3 separate regions of the Homo sapiens genome follow, and regions 2 and 3 are each linked to region 1. Evidence: promoter capture Hi-C in human tissues and cell types (Jung and others, 2019). All regions are on one chromosome and are shown on one strand. Each heading gives the region's core, a stretch centred on a gene start or on the middle of the fragment in contact. The rest is flanking DNA. Distances are from core to core; before and after follow the strand shown. Region 1 holds the start of CACNA1H (calcium voltage-gated channel subunit alpha1 H). Region 2 has its middle 37 kb from the start of GNG13. Region 3 holds the start of CCDC154 (coiled-coil domain containing 154).

Evidence for each region. Contacts are between HindIII fragments. The study calls those that stand out against the background at their distance.
Region 2: a contact is called between a fragment that was not itself captured here and the fragment with the promoter of CACNA1H in region 1, in 1 of the 25 tissues and cell types used here (lymphoblastoid cells).
Region 3: a contact is called between the fragment with the promoter of CCDC154 here and the fragment with the promoter of CACNA1H in region 1, in 1 of the 25 tissues and cell types used here (pancreas).

Annotation. Positions count from the first base shown.
Region 1 is chr16:1,150,900-1,154,978 of GRCh38, forward strand. It overlaps CACNA1H (calcium voltage-gated channel subunit alpha1 H), which reads left to right and starts at 2,207. Exons shown (of 35, transcript NM_021098.3): 1 at 2,207-2,571; 2 at 2,821-3,137. The coding sequence starts at 2,839. RefSeq lists enhancers at 1,106-1,686, 3,061-3,828. The HindIII fragment of the contact is 19,639 bases long and covers 1-4,079 here.
Region 2 is chr16:835,312-839,390 of GRCh38, forward strand. No RefSeq gene overlaps it. Among named protein-coding and RNA genes, the nearest start is that of GNG13, 37 kb to the left of the region's middle. The HindIII fragment of the contact is 6,474 bases long and covers 1-4,079 here.
Region 3 is chr16:1,441,727-1,445,805 of GRCh38, forward strand. It overlaps CCDC154 (coiled-coil domain containing 154), which reads right to left and starts at 2,830. Exons shown (of 17, transcript NM_001143980.3): 1 at 2,590-2,830; 2 at 2,070-2,286; 3 at 1,780-1,969; 4 at 1,535-1,575; 5 at 1,154-1,249; 6 at 680-803. The coding sequence starts at 2,596. CLCN7 (chloride voltage-gated channel 7) reads right to left here. Exons shown (of 25, transcript NM_001287.6): 25 at 3,209-4,079. The HindIII fragment of the contact is 26,646 bases long and covers 1-4,079 here.

The sequences.
Region 1 (4,079 bases), core at 957-3,456:
CGCCCCCTGGCACTTAGTTTGGAAACTGTTTTCTCCTCCCCATAAGACGGAAGCTGCAGGCATGAGAACCGGGTCTGTCTGGTCACAGCCAAGGCACCTCCACCCTCCAACCGGGCCCCGCGCACTGTCCACCCTCAACTACCATTTGTCCAGCAAATCAACGACAGCCCCCAGCTAGAATCTGGAGCTTCAGTCTGTGGCTTTGCCTTAGCTTTAATTAATTAATTAATTAACTTATTATTTTTTTGAGGCAGAGTCCACTCTGTCACCCAGGCTGGAGTGCAGTGGCGTGATCTCGGCTCACTGCAACCTCTGCCTCCTGGGTTCAAGTGATTCTCCTCCCTCAGCATCCCGAGTAGCGGGGATTACAGGCATATGTCACCATGCCTGGCTAATTTTTGTATTTTAGTAGAGACGGGATTTCACCATGTTGGTCAGGCTGGTCTCGAACTCCTGACCTCAAGTGATCCACACACCTCGGCCTCCCAAAGTGCTGGGATTACAGGCGTGAGCCACTGCACCTGGCCCACCCTAACTTTTAACGAGCAGGGTGTTGATAAAAAGATCAGAGGTTCCAAGTGCCCTCTGGACCGGACTCCGATTCAGCGTTTGTGTCTCCCCACCTGCTCCAGCCTCCCTCCACGGATGTGTCCAAAGCACGGGGCTCTCCTAGGTCCTGCTCCTCTGTGGCTGGAACCTTAATTGGACCTTTGAAGGCCTAATTCACCAGCTGTGGCCCTCCATCGCTGAGTAGTTGCATTAAAATAGACTGAATGTTTTCCTTTTCTTGAAAGTTCCCGTATACAGGAGGAGGTGCTGCTGAAAGGACCTGTACCCCAGCCAGGCCCCCACACTCCTGCCTTCCAGTTCCTCGGCCCACCCCAGGTGCTGTGTGTCCTTCCGGGCCCCAGCTGGGCAGGGCCTCTTCTTCACCCTGCACGATGTGGCCCACCCGGGGGAGGTCCTGCTTCTCTGCTGCTCACCCGCAGGTGGGAAGCCACAGCCGCCCCACAGCCTCTCCGGGTCTGGGGTCTCAGGGTGCGCCCTGGAGCAGGGCCTCTTTGTCTGGAGGGAGAAGGGGTCTCTCCCACTACCAGGGGCCCCTTGTTGGCGGGCGTGCTGAGGTGCACACCTGGGAGCTCAAGCTCCCTGGTGCACAAAGCAGTGGTCCCAGAAGCAAAACCACCCTTCCAGCCTGGAGGGGTGCCCTGGGGGGAGTCAGGAGCCTGGGCACCTGCCCCCACCTGCTGGCACCTCGAGGTGCGGCCAGCCCTCCCTGGGACAAGGGCCTGGCCATCCCCAATGTCTGAAGGGTCCACCCCTTCCCGACCAAACCACTTGCTCTGAGGGTCCAGGGGAAGGCCCTTCTGCTGGCCTGGCTGAAGGAGCAGCTGCTGGCAGGGGGAAGGGGCCTGCACTTCTCCTCGGGGGCCCCTGGGTGAGTCTCGCTGAGGCAGCGGGGTTGGAGGATGCAGGAGCACCAGGCTGCCGTCCCCAGGGTCCCCCAGATCCCCACGCGGGAGGGGACCGGAGACGAGGACAAGTTCGCGGAAACTGCCCGTGCGTGTCGGGGAGAGATGCGAGTGCAGGAGCGCCCAGCCGTAAAGCACACCCCCGCCCGCCCCCGCGCCCCATCACACACGCGCGCGCGGGCACACCCGGGACACACACGCGGCGGGGAAGGGGCACGCAGCCTCTCGCCTTCCACGCCCGCCCGGTCCCCGCCCCTCCGCCGACCCGGGCCCGCGTCGTAGTGGGGGTGGGGGTGGGGGCGGCGGCGGCGCGCGCGGCAGCGCGAAGGGGGAGGGGGAGCCGGAGCGGGAGGGGGAGGGGCGCGGCATCGGCGGCTCGGCCGCCCCCGCAGTTGGGGGCAGGGAAGGACGTAGGTGCTCCCCCTCCCACCCCGCCGGAGCCTCCCGCGAGCGCCCCCTGGTGCACCCCACGCCCGGCATTGTTGGGGAGCACGAAAAGCGGGGAGCCCAGTGCGGGGGCGTGGAGGGGGCGCGGGCGGGGTCCAACTTCCCGCACCCGGGGGGGGGCGGGGCGCCGGGCGGCGACAGGGAGGGGTCGCTCGGGCGCGCGCGTCTCGGGCCGGGGGCGGATCCTCCCCAGTACCCCCCCGCCCGCCCCGCCCCCGGCCCCGCCCCGGCCACGCTGGCCCCGCCCCGGTCGCGCCGGCCCCGCCCCGCCCCGCCCCCCGCCGCTCAGCCCGAAGTTTCCTGCGCCGCGCGCGGACGGGCTCGAGGCTCGCTCGCTGCCTCACCGGTCCCCGGCCCGCGCCCCGCGCCCCGCGCCCCGCGCCCCGGCCTCACCCGTCCGCTCAGCGGCCTCCACGCCGCGCCGAGGCCGCCGCCGTCGCCTCCGCCGGGCGAGCCGGAGCCGGAGTCGAGCCGCGGCCGGGAGCCGGGCGGGCTGGGGACGCGGGCCGGGGGCGGAGGCGCTGGGGGCCGGGGCCGGGGCCGGGGGCGGAGGCGCTGGGGGCCGGGGCCGGGGCCGGGCGCCGAGCGGGGTCCGCGGTGACCGCGCCGCCCGGGCGATGCCCGCGGGGACGCCGCCGGCCAGCAGAGCGAGGTGAGACGCGGCGAGGACGCGCGCCCGGGACCCTCTTCAACTTGCGCGAAGCGGGCCGGGGAGCCCCTCGGGGTGGGGGTGGGGCCGCTGGAGGGAGGGAGGGGGCGGGCGGGGGCGGGGGGCGCGTTTGTCTCTAATAAGAAAAGACAAAGACATCCCGGCGGCCGCGGCTGTTCCCGCAGCTCCGCGCCGCGGGAGGCAGGGCGGGGGCGTCGCCACCGGCCCCGGGTCACCCCCTGTCCTCTGCAGGTGCTGCCGGCCGCCACCATGACCGAGGGCGCACGGGCCGCCGACGAGGTCCGGGTGCCCCTGGGCGCGCCGCCCCCTGGCCCTGCGGCGTTGGTGGGGGCGTCCCCGGAGAGCCCCGGGGCGCCGGGACGCGAGGCGGAGCGGGGGTCCGAGCTCGGCGTGTCACCCTCCGAGAGCCCGGCGGCCGAGCGCGGCGCGGAGCTGGGTGCCGACGAGGAGCAGCGCGTCCCGTACCCGGCCTTGGCGGCCACGGTCTTCTTCTGCCTCGGTCAGACCACGCGGCCGCGCAGCTGGTGCCTCCGGCTGGTCTGCAACCCATATCCTTCCCGGCCGGCGGGGGGCGGGGGGCGGGGGGCGTGGGGAGGGTGGGGGCCCGGGGCGCGGGACTCCCTCGGCATGCGCCCCCGCGCGCCCCTGTTGGTGGGACCTGGCGTGGGCCGGGCGCGCGGGGGTGCAGGGCAGGGGCTGGAGGACCGCGCTCTAATTTCTGAGAGTGGCGGGCTTGGGGGGCCACCGGGCGCCTCCGGACTCCCTTCCCCAGGGCCGGCTCCGGACGGAGAAGGTGGAAGCGAAGCGGTGAGGCCCCCGCGGGCTTGGAGGGGAGAGGAGTCGGGGAGGGAGGGAAGGTCCTAACTCCTCGCGGCCCCAAGGGTGTTGGCCAGGACGGGAATTTCCCCCTTGCCCACCCCTCACTGTCTGAAGGTCCTGCCCGAGGCAGGCCCCTCGCGGGGGAGGGGGAGGCCAGAGGAGCTGGAGTCAGGGGCGCAAAGTTTTCAGCCGGCGCCTGGTGGTTCCGAGTGCGTGGGGAGACCCGTGGGGCCTGTGAGCGCCGCCAGGGCCTTTTCCGTGGAGAGAGGCGGTGACGTTGGTTGTGAACTCGCTTTTTCTGGCTGAACTCGGTGGCGGGGCTGACTTAAGTCATGCGCAGCTGAAGGGTAGGGGGCAGGGAGGCAATTGGCACTGCCAAGGGGGAGTCTCATCTCCCCAGCCCCTTCCCTGGCTGGAGAGGAAGAGGCAGCCTCTTCTACTCTCGGCCAGAGCGGCACAGACTGCAGAGAAGGTTCCAGAACAGAGTTGGGTCAGGGCCAGGGGCATTTGTGGGATGTACACGGAGGTCCAGGGGGCCCCCCAGCAGGTGGCCTTGGGGGCGGGTCTCCGCGTGCCCTGAGAAGGGCCTTGCGTGGTGCCTGTGTCAGGGCCGGGTCTCCCCACCGGCCCTTCTGAGCCGGCAGCTGGGGTGGCCAGGCCGTGGCTTCTGC
Region 2 (4,079 bases), core at 528-3,027, 320 kb before region 1:
CCAAGCCATGAGCCTCCAGGAGGGCCTGGACTGGGGGAAACCAGTCTGGGGGCTGCAGCCCCCTCAGGCCCAGCTTCAGAGGACCCCACAAAGTGATGGGCCTGAAGGGGAGGGGGAGGGCATCTGCCTGCTCTGCAGACCCCAGGCCAGGCCAGGGGCTGGGCCAGACACAGGGGCTGCTTCTGGGCATGACCCCCCCCCCCGACCCCCCGCCCAAGTGAGGTGGCTGTGTGACCTTCGTGCTGGGCGTTTGTCTGGGACACAGAGCTGTGGCCTCCCCCACTGTGCAGCGATGGCCGACCTGTCTCTTGAGACCGTCTGTCCCCTTCTGAGCCCCTGGGAATAGTGGGGTGAGTTACCAGCCACACAGCTGCATGGCTGGACACTTCTCCCCACACCTCAGCCTGAGGCCCTGTGCTGGAGCACCGAGGATCATCTGGGCGGGAGCTGCCTGCGGCCTGTGGGTGCCTAGCTGTGCATCTCTGGGACCTGGAGGGAAGGATAGCTCAGAAGGGGCTTTTCAGGGGTGACCATGTAAGGCAAATTAAGGAAAGAGGGTGAACAGGGAACACTCGAAGATGAGAGATGCCTTTTCTCTTTGAGCATGTGTGAGAACATGCTAGGGTGGTCTGGAAGGTCTGTAATGGGGGTGGTGCTGGGTATTGCCCTATTGGGGGTGCAGCCTCCGCTTCACAGGGCTCTGCACCAACAGGCCCAGGTCCTCGTGGGGCCTTTGCTTGGGCAGCTATGGGCACAGTAGCCACATGTAGGGGGGCCTCCCCAAATGGAGCCTGCAGGGTTTGCAGTGGTGAGTCCTCAACCGCTAACATAAAATGCACATATTTTAGGTTATAACTGGATGAGTTTTAACAAATGTGACACCAGTAACCCACAGCTCGGTCAAGACAGAACACTCCTTGGTCAAGACAGAACAACACCCTGAACATTCCTCATGCCTCTCCCCAGGTAACCCCCCCCACAGAGGGAACCGTTGTCCTCATGTGTGTTTCAGGATAGGTTAGTTTCTCCAATTCTGAAACTTGGTGTAAACTTTCACTCCGTCAGTGCCTTTGGCGGCATCCATGTTGCTTTCTTTTTTCTTGCCTTATTACTCTGGCTAGCAAGTCTAGTGTGATATGGAATAGAAACAGTGGGAGTGGCTGTCCTTGTCCTGTGCTTGATCTTACAGTGAAGCTTTCGGTTTTTCCCCATTAAATAGTATGAGGGCTATGGATTCTGTAGATGCCTTTTATTAGGCTGAAGAAGTTTCCTTCTCTTCTTAATTTGCTGAGTTTCTATTATGAATAGTGTTGAATTTTGTCTAATGTTTTTTCCTGTATCTATCAGAGATACAATCATATGGTTTTTCTTAGTGTTTTAATTGGTTGATTTGCTTTTTGTTTTTGTTTTTTCTTTTTTTGATGGAGTTTCACAATCGTTGCCCAGGCTGGAGTACAGTGGCATGATCTTCGCTTACTGCAGCCTCCACCTCCTGTGTTCAAGTGATTCTCCTGCCTCAGCCTCCTGAGTAGCTGGGATTACAGGTGCTTGCCACCATGACCGGCTCATTTTTTGTATTTTTAGTAGAGATGGGGTTTCACCATGTTGGCCAGGCTGGTCACAAACTCCTCACCTCAAGTGATCCACCTGCCTTGGCCTCCCAAAGTGCTGGGATTACAGATGTGAGCCACCGTGCCTGGCTGATTGGTTTTCAGATTGAACCAACCTTGCATTCCTCATCATGGAATATAATCCACAGTCCAGTTGAGCATGGTGTCTAATTCTTTTTACATATTTCTGATATTACCAATTTGCTAATATCTTGCTGAGGTTTTGTTTTCTGTCTATATTCATGAGGTATATTGGTCTGCGGTTTGGCTTTGTTTTCTTTCTTTCTTTTTTTTTTTGAGACAAGAGTCTTGCTCTGTCGCCCAGGCCAGAGTGCAGTGGTGAGATCTCAGCTCACTGCAATGTCCATCTCCTGGGTTCAAGCAATTCTCCTGCCTCAGCCTCCCGGGTAGCTGGGAATATAGGCGTCTGCCAACATGCCTGGCTAATTTTTTCTATTTTTAGTAGAGACGGGGTTTCACCATGTTAGCCAGGGTGGTCTCGATCTCCTGACCTCATGATCCACCTGCCTCAGCCTCCCAAAGTGCTGGGATTACAGGTGTGAGCCACTGTGCTTGGACTCTTTTTTTTTTTTTTTTTTTTTTTTTTTTTGAGACAGTTTCACTCTGTCACTCATGCTGGGAGTGTAGTGGTGTGATCTTGGCTCACTGCAACCTCTGCCTCCTGGGTTCAAATGATTCTTGTGCCTCAGCCTCCCGAGTAGCTGGGATTACAGGTGCACACCACCACACCTGGCTCATTTTTTGTTTTTAGCAGAGACAAGGTTTTGCCATGTTGGCCAGGCTGGTCTCGAACTCCTGGCCTCAAGTGATCTACCCACCTTGGCCTCCCAAAGTGCTGGGATTACAGGTGTGAACCACTGTGTCCGGCCTGTGGTTTTTTCTTTTCTTTTCTTTTCTTTTCTTTTTTTTTTTTTTTGAGATGGAGTCTCGCTCTGTCACCCAGGTTGGAGTGCAGTGGTGTGATCTCGGTTCACTGCAACCTCCGCCTCCCGGTTTGAGTGACTCTCCTGACTCAGCCTCTCAGGTAGCTGGGACTACAGGTGTCCACCACCACGCCTAGCTAATTTTTTGTATTTTTAGTAGAGACGGGGTTTCACTGTGTTAGCTAGGATGGTGTCAATCTCCTGACCTCATGATCCGCCTGCCTCGGCCTCCCAAAGTGCTGGGATTATAGACGTGAGCCACTGCACCCCTCTGGTTTTCTTTTCTTGTACTGTCTTTTTCTGGTTTTAGTATTACGGTAATGCTGGCCTGATGAAACACACTGGGAAGTGTTTCCTCCTCTTCTGTTTTTTGGAAGAGGTTGTGTAGAATTGGTGTTATTTCTTTTATTAAGGTTTGGTGGATTCAGTCAAACCATCTTTGCTTGGACGTTTACTTTTATTTATTTTTCTTTTCTTTTTTTTTTTTTTTGAGACAGAGTTTCGCTCTTGTTGCCTAGGCTGGAGTGCAATGGCATGATCTGGGCTCACCACAACCTCCACCTCCCAGGTTCAAGTGATTCTCCTGCCTCAGCCTCCCGAGTAGCTGGAATTACAGGCATACGCCACCATGCCCGGCTAATTTTTGTATTTTTAGTAGAGATGGGGTTCTCCATGTTGGTCAGGCTGGTCTTGAACTCCCAACCTCAGGTAATCCACCTGCCTTGGCCTCCCACAGTGCTGGGATTACAGGCATGAGCCACCGCGTCCAGCCGGATGCTTCCTTTTCATATCTTTACAGATTTAATTTCTTTAATAGCTGAAGGGCTGTTCGTTATCAGTTACATTTTGGGTGAGTTTTTGTTGTGGTTTTTAAGGAATTGGTCCATTTCTTCTAAGTTATAAAATTTACATTCCTAGAGGGGAGTTGTTTGTGCTTTTGACTTTGTGTTTTGAGCAGCCCTGAGACCAAAGATGAGTCTTGACTGAGCGTCTGAGGGGCAGCTGGGCCCCGAGGCTGATGGGAAGAGCCAGACGAGGCCTGGGAAGATGGATCCGTCCCAGTGTGGCCGCGCGGCTGTCAGGAGGGCACGGGGACTGGGCGCGGCCGTCAGGAAGGTTCGGGGACTGGGCTGCTGTAGCAAACTCGGGGGCTTAAAGCAACAGAAACCCACCCCCACTGTCCTGGAGGCCAGAAGTCTGAGATCAAGGCTTCGGCAGGGCTGTGTTCCCACTGGAGACTCCAGGGGAGGGTCCTCCTGCCCTTTCCAGCTCCCAGGGGCTTCAGGTGTTCCTCGGCTTGTGGCCACGTTGCTCGTCTCTGCCTCTGACTTCACTTGACCACGTCCTCTGTCTGTGTTTTCTCCTCGCCTGTCTCTTAGAAGGACCCCTCCCACTGGATTTAGGGCCCACCGTACTCCAGGACGATCTCGTCTCAAAGCCCTCAACCTACTGATGTCTGTAGAGACCCTTTTCCAAATACTGTCACGTCCACAGGTTCTGGGGCGAGGACGTGGGTGTCTCTTTT
Region 3 (4,079 bases), core at 1,580-4,079, 290 kb after region 1:
CTGGGACGAAGAGCGCCCAGATCTGCAGCTGCCGGCCCCACGTGGCAACTGAGCTTTTTTTTGAGATGAGGTCTCGCTGTGTTGCCCAGGCTGGTCTTGACTTCCCAGGCTCAAGCGATCCTCCCGCCTCGGCCTCCCAAAAGTGCTGGGATTTACAGGCGTGTGCCACTGCACGTGGCCTGAGCTTTTGTTTTTTTGTTTTGTTTTGTTTTTTGAAATGGAGTCTCACTCTGTCACCAGGCTGGAGTGGCGCGATCTCAGCTCACTGTGACCTCCTCCTGCTGGATTCAAGCAATCCTCCTGCCTCAGCCTCCTCAGTAGCTGAGGCTACAGGTGCCCGCCACCACACCTGGCTAGTTTTTTGTATTTTTAGTAGAGATGGGGTTTCACCATGTTGGCCAGGCTGGTCTTGAACTCCTGACCTTGTGATCTGCCCGCCTCAGCCTCCCAAAGTGCTGGGATTACAGGCGTGAGCCACCGTGCCCAAACAACCTGAACTTTTGAAATGGGGCATGTGCGGCTGAGGAATTGAGTTTTACATTGTCTACAACTATAGCTGATTTCAGTGGACACAGATACATGGTGAACGGCCGCTGTATCGGATGGCACAGGCCGAGAGGGTTAGGGTCTCCTCCTCGGCCCTCTGGGCGGCCCCCCTGAAGCCTGGGCCTGGTGGTACCTGCATTCTGGCCACCTCCAGGTCCACCCTCCGGCTGCTGTCCTCTTGGTTCTTCTGCAGGGCGCCGCAGGCCACCTCCCGGCCCTGCTCCTCCTGCTGCAGCAAGTCGGTCAGCTTGGCCAGTCTAGAGAAGTCGGCTGTGGTCACACCAGCCCAGCTGGCCGGAGGGCCCAGCAGGGTGAGGCTGACCCACAGGCTGGCCAGGCAGGAGGTGTACGACCCCCGCCCCCTGCCCCACCAGAAAACAGAGGAATGGGAAACACAGCACCGGTGGCAGGGAAGGGCTGCTGCGAGTCTCTTCCCCACAGAGGGTCCGCAGCGGGCCCAGGCTTCCCAGCACGCTTGGCACCGAGGGCGGTGCCCCGCCGGGTTACTGGGGACACACGGCAGGGGGACCCGTGTCTTGGCTCAGCCAGGGACTCTCAAATGACCCCACGCAAGCTCCGGAGCCAGCCACGGGCGGTGGGCGCCCACCTGAGGCCGGCCTCTTGCTCGGCGCCCCTTCTCTCCGCCTCCTGTTGCACCTGCCTCCTCCTGAGCCGGGTCAAGGCTTCCCGGACCTCCACCAGCCTGGGACACAACAAGCCATTCCCGAGAGGCCCAGGCGGGCTGAGCAGCCTCGGCGGGCTGGGGGTCTGGCCAAGGGGCCCCTGTGGCCACCTCCCATGGCTTTCCTGGGCCTCTGAAGGCCGCCCAGGCACGTACAAACCCGGCCTTTTCTAGCTGGACCTGGATGTGTATCCCCCACTCCAGCGACACCCAGCGGGAGATGTGGACCCCCCACCACACCTGCCGCTGCTTTCTCGCCACCACCTCCCCGCCCTGGGCCTGTGCCCCTAGGTGTGTGGGGGGTACCTTTTGTCCAGGGCCTGCATCTGGTTCTGGAGACCAGAGAACTGCGAGGAGGAAGAGGAGGCTGTGGGCTGGACCTAGGCCCGGGTCTGGCACCTGCCCCTGGAGTCCACCCAGCTCCGGCACCACTGGCCCCTGGGAGCTCTGGGCCTGGGCAGCAGGGGTGAGCTGGGCTCCAGGCCCAGAAGCAGCTGCCCCCAACACCCAGGAAAGGGGCAGCTCGACCTGTGGGTGGGGGAGCCGCTCACCTCCGGCGCCTCCTTTTCGGGGGCCTGGGCTGCCGGCCGCGCCTCCTGCTGCAACTGCCTCAGCTCTGAGCCCTGCAGCTGCACGCGGGCCCGCACCTGGAGCAGCTCCCGCAGCAGGCTCCGCGTGGCGCGCTCACAGCGCTGCTTGTGCTCCCGCAGGCAGGCCACCTCGGCCTGCAGCTCCACCACCCTGGCCGGGGCGAGAGTGGGCGAGTCTGGCGGTGCCCGCCGTGGAGGCGGAGGCGGCGGCGACGTGGTCCTCCCCCGCCAGCACCCCCTGCAGGGCTCACCACTGCTCCAGCTGGTTCCAGTGCTTGGCGGTGTCCTGCTCGGGGACAGAGGCCGTGGATGTCGGATGGCTGGACTCATACCTCTCCGAGAGCTCCTCCAGGCTCAAGGGCTCGGGGCTGGCCAGGCCTCCTGCCAGGAGGAGCCCCAGGTCTTCCAGGGTGACGGCTCTCAGCTGGGAAGGGGCCGATGCCCCTGAGGGTCCACTGTCAGCCAACTCTACAAGGAGGCATCTTGGGAGCTTGCCCCTTGGGGCCCGGCCCCCACTGGAGCTTACGGGAACAAGGCCCCAAACCCCCGCAGGACCCTCGCCCACCACCCAGAGCTCAACGCGTCTCCTTGGGTCACACAGGATCCAGACGGGCTTGGCTCAGACAAGTCCAGGGCCCTGCCTGAAGACACACAGCACTGGGCGGCAGGAACAAGCGAGCTGGAGGGAGCCCGGGGTCAGAAGCAGAGCGGTCCCCACCCTCACACCTGTGGCAAGCCCCTCCCTGGGCCCCGCTCCTCCGCTCTGGTCACCTGACATGGCTGCTGGGCTGCACCGGCCACCCTGCCCTCGGCTGTAGCTTGGGCCTTGGGGCCTCTGAGGTTGCCCAGAGCTGGGCACAGGCCAGGGGGGTCAGGAGCCAGAGGAAGTCCCGTGAGAGCTCTGGGCCTTGAGGGACGAGCTGCTGCCCTCGTCTGGCTGCCTTCTCAGGGTCCCCAGGGAGGCAGGTGTGGGGCAGCGGGGCCGTTCCAGAACCTTCCTTCTCTCCCCAGAACCTCACGGCTTCACAGCCCAACTGCCAATGGAACTCTAGCCCTCAGCTCTCCCACTCCCGCAGGGCCCCCCAACTGCCTGCTTCTGGATGGATCTGAGGGGCCCCACTCCCGAGAGGGCGCAGACACGTGTCCTCTGGCAAAGGGGACTTCTTCAGCTGCCGAGGGAGGGGAAGGAGGCCCTGACGAGGCCTGGGCACGCCGGGAGGGACGCTGGGAGCAGGGAGGCCGAGAGCCCCAGGACACCCCGGACACAGCCAGGCCCACGTCCGAGCGGAGCCCGAGGCCTGGGCAGCGCCATCGGGGTGAGGGGCACAGCCGGGCTCCACGGGAACCCATCTTGCTCAGCAGCCCCATTAAAAGGCAAGAAGCAGCGATGTGAATCCTAACCGCTGATTTTATTTAACCGAATATATCCAAAATATGATCACTTCCAGGTCCTCAGTACACAACCACCACGAGGGAAACCCAGACCTAGGTTTCCGGCGCCGACTCTGAGGCCCGGGAGTTTTCTTCTTGCGTCACCCCAGCGTGGGCACCCCGGCCCGCCCCCCTCCACCTGGAGCGCCTCTGCCTTGCCCCCAGACCCACCAGCCAGGAGCCAGAGGAGGGAGGCTGAGGGGCGGGGACGAGGAAGAGGATGTGGCTGGTGCCCTGGGTGGCCGCAGCCGCTGTCTTTCACGCCTTTCTCACTCCACACGGTGCCCCGACCCCAGGGTCCCGAAAGTCCCAGGCTGTTGGACGTGGTCTGGGTGGGGTGGGAGGGACGACGCTGGCAAAGGCGGGCTGAGAGGATTTCTTTATTTCGCGTTCAGACCCAACACACTCGGACACCTTGGGGCCCTGTGAGGGCTAAGCAGGGTGGTGGCGTCAGCTCCCGGGGAGGCCCCACTCCCTGGGGAGGAAATACACGGCAGGGGGCCGCACCCAGCCCCCCACGGAGGGACCCGTGTTGCTCTAACAGGGACACTGAAGTTGCCTCTGCCGCCCCGTGAGGGGCCTGTGGCGGCCCCAGACCCAGCCCAGCCAGGCCAGAGGAGCCTCCCAGGGGCCCTCAGGTGGTGAGGTGGGGGCTTCCCGGCCCCGGTGCCCACCGGCCCTTCTAGCTGCCTGTGCTGGGCCAGGTGTCCTCTGAGGCCGGCAGGAGTCTGGCCCCCGCTGCACCTGCGCTTGGTGGCTGGCAGGGGCGGGGTAGGGAGGTCACCCTCGAGGCCGGGGTCCCCATGTGCTAGGGGAAGACCTGCCTTCCC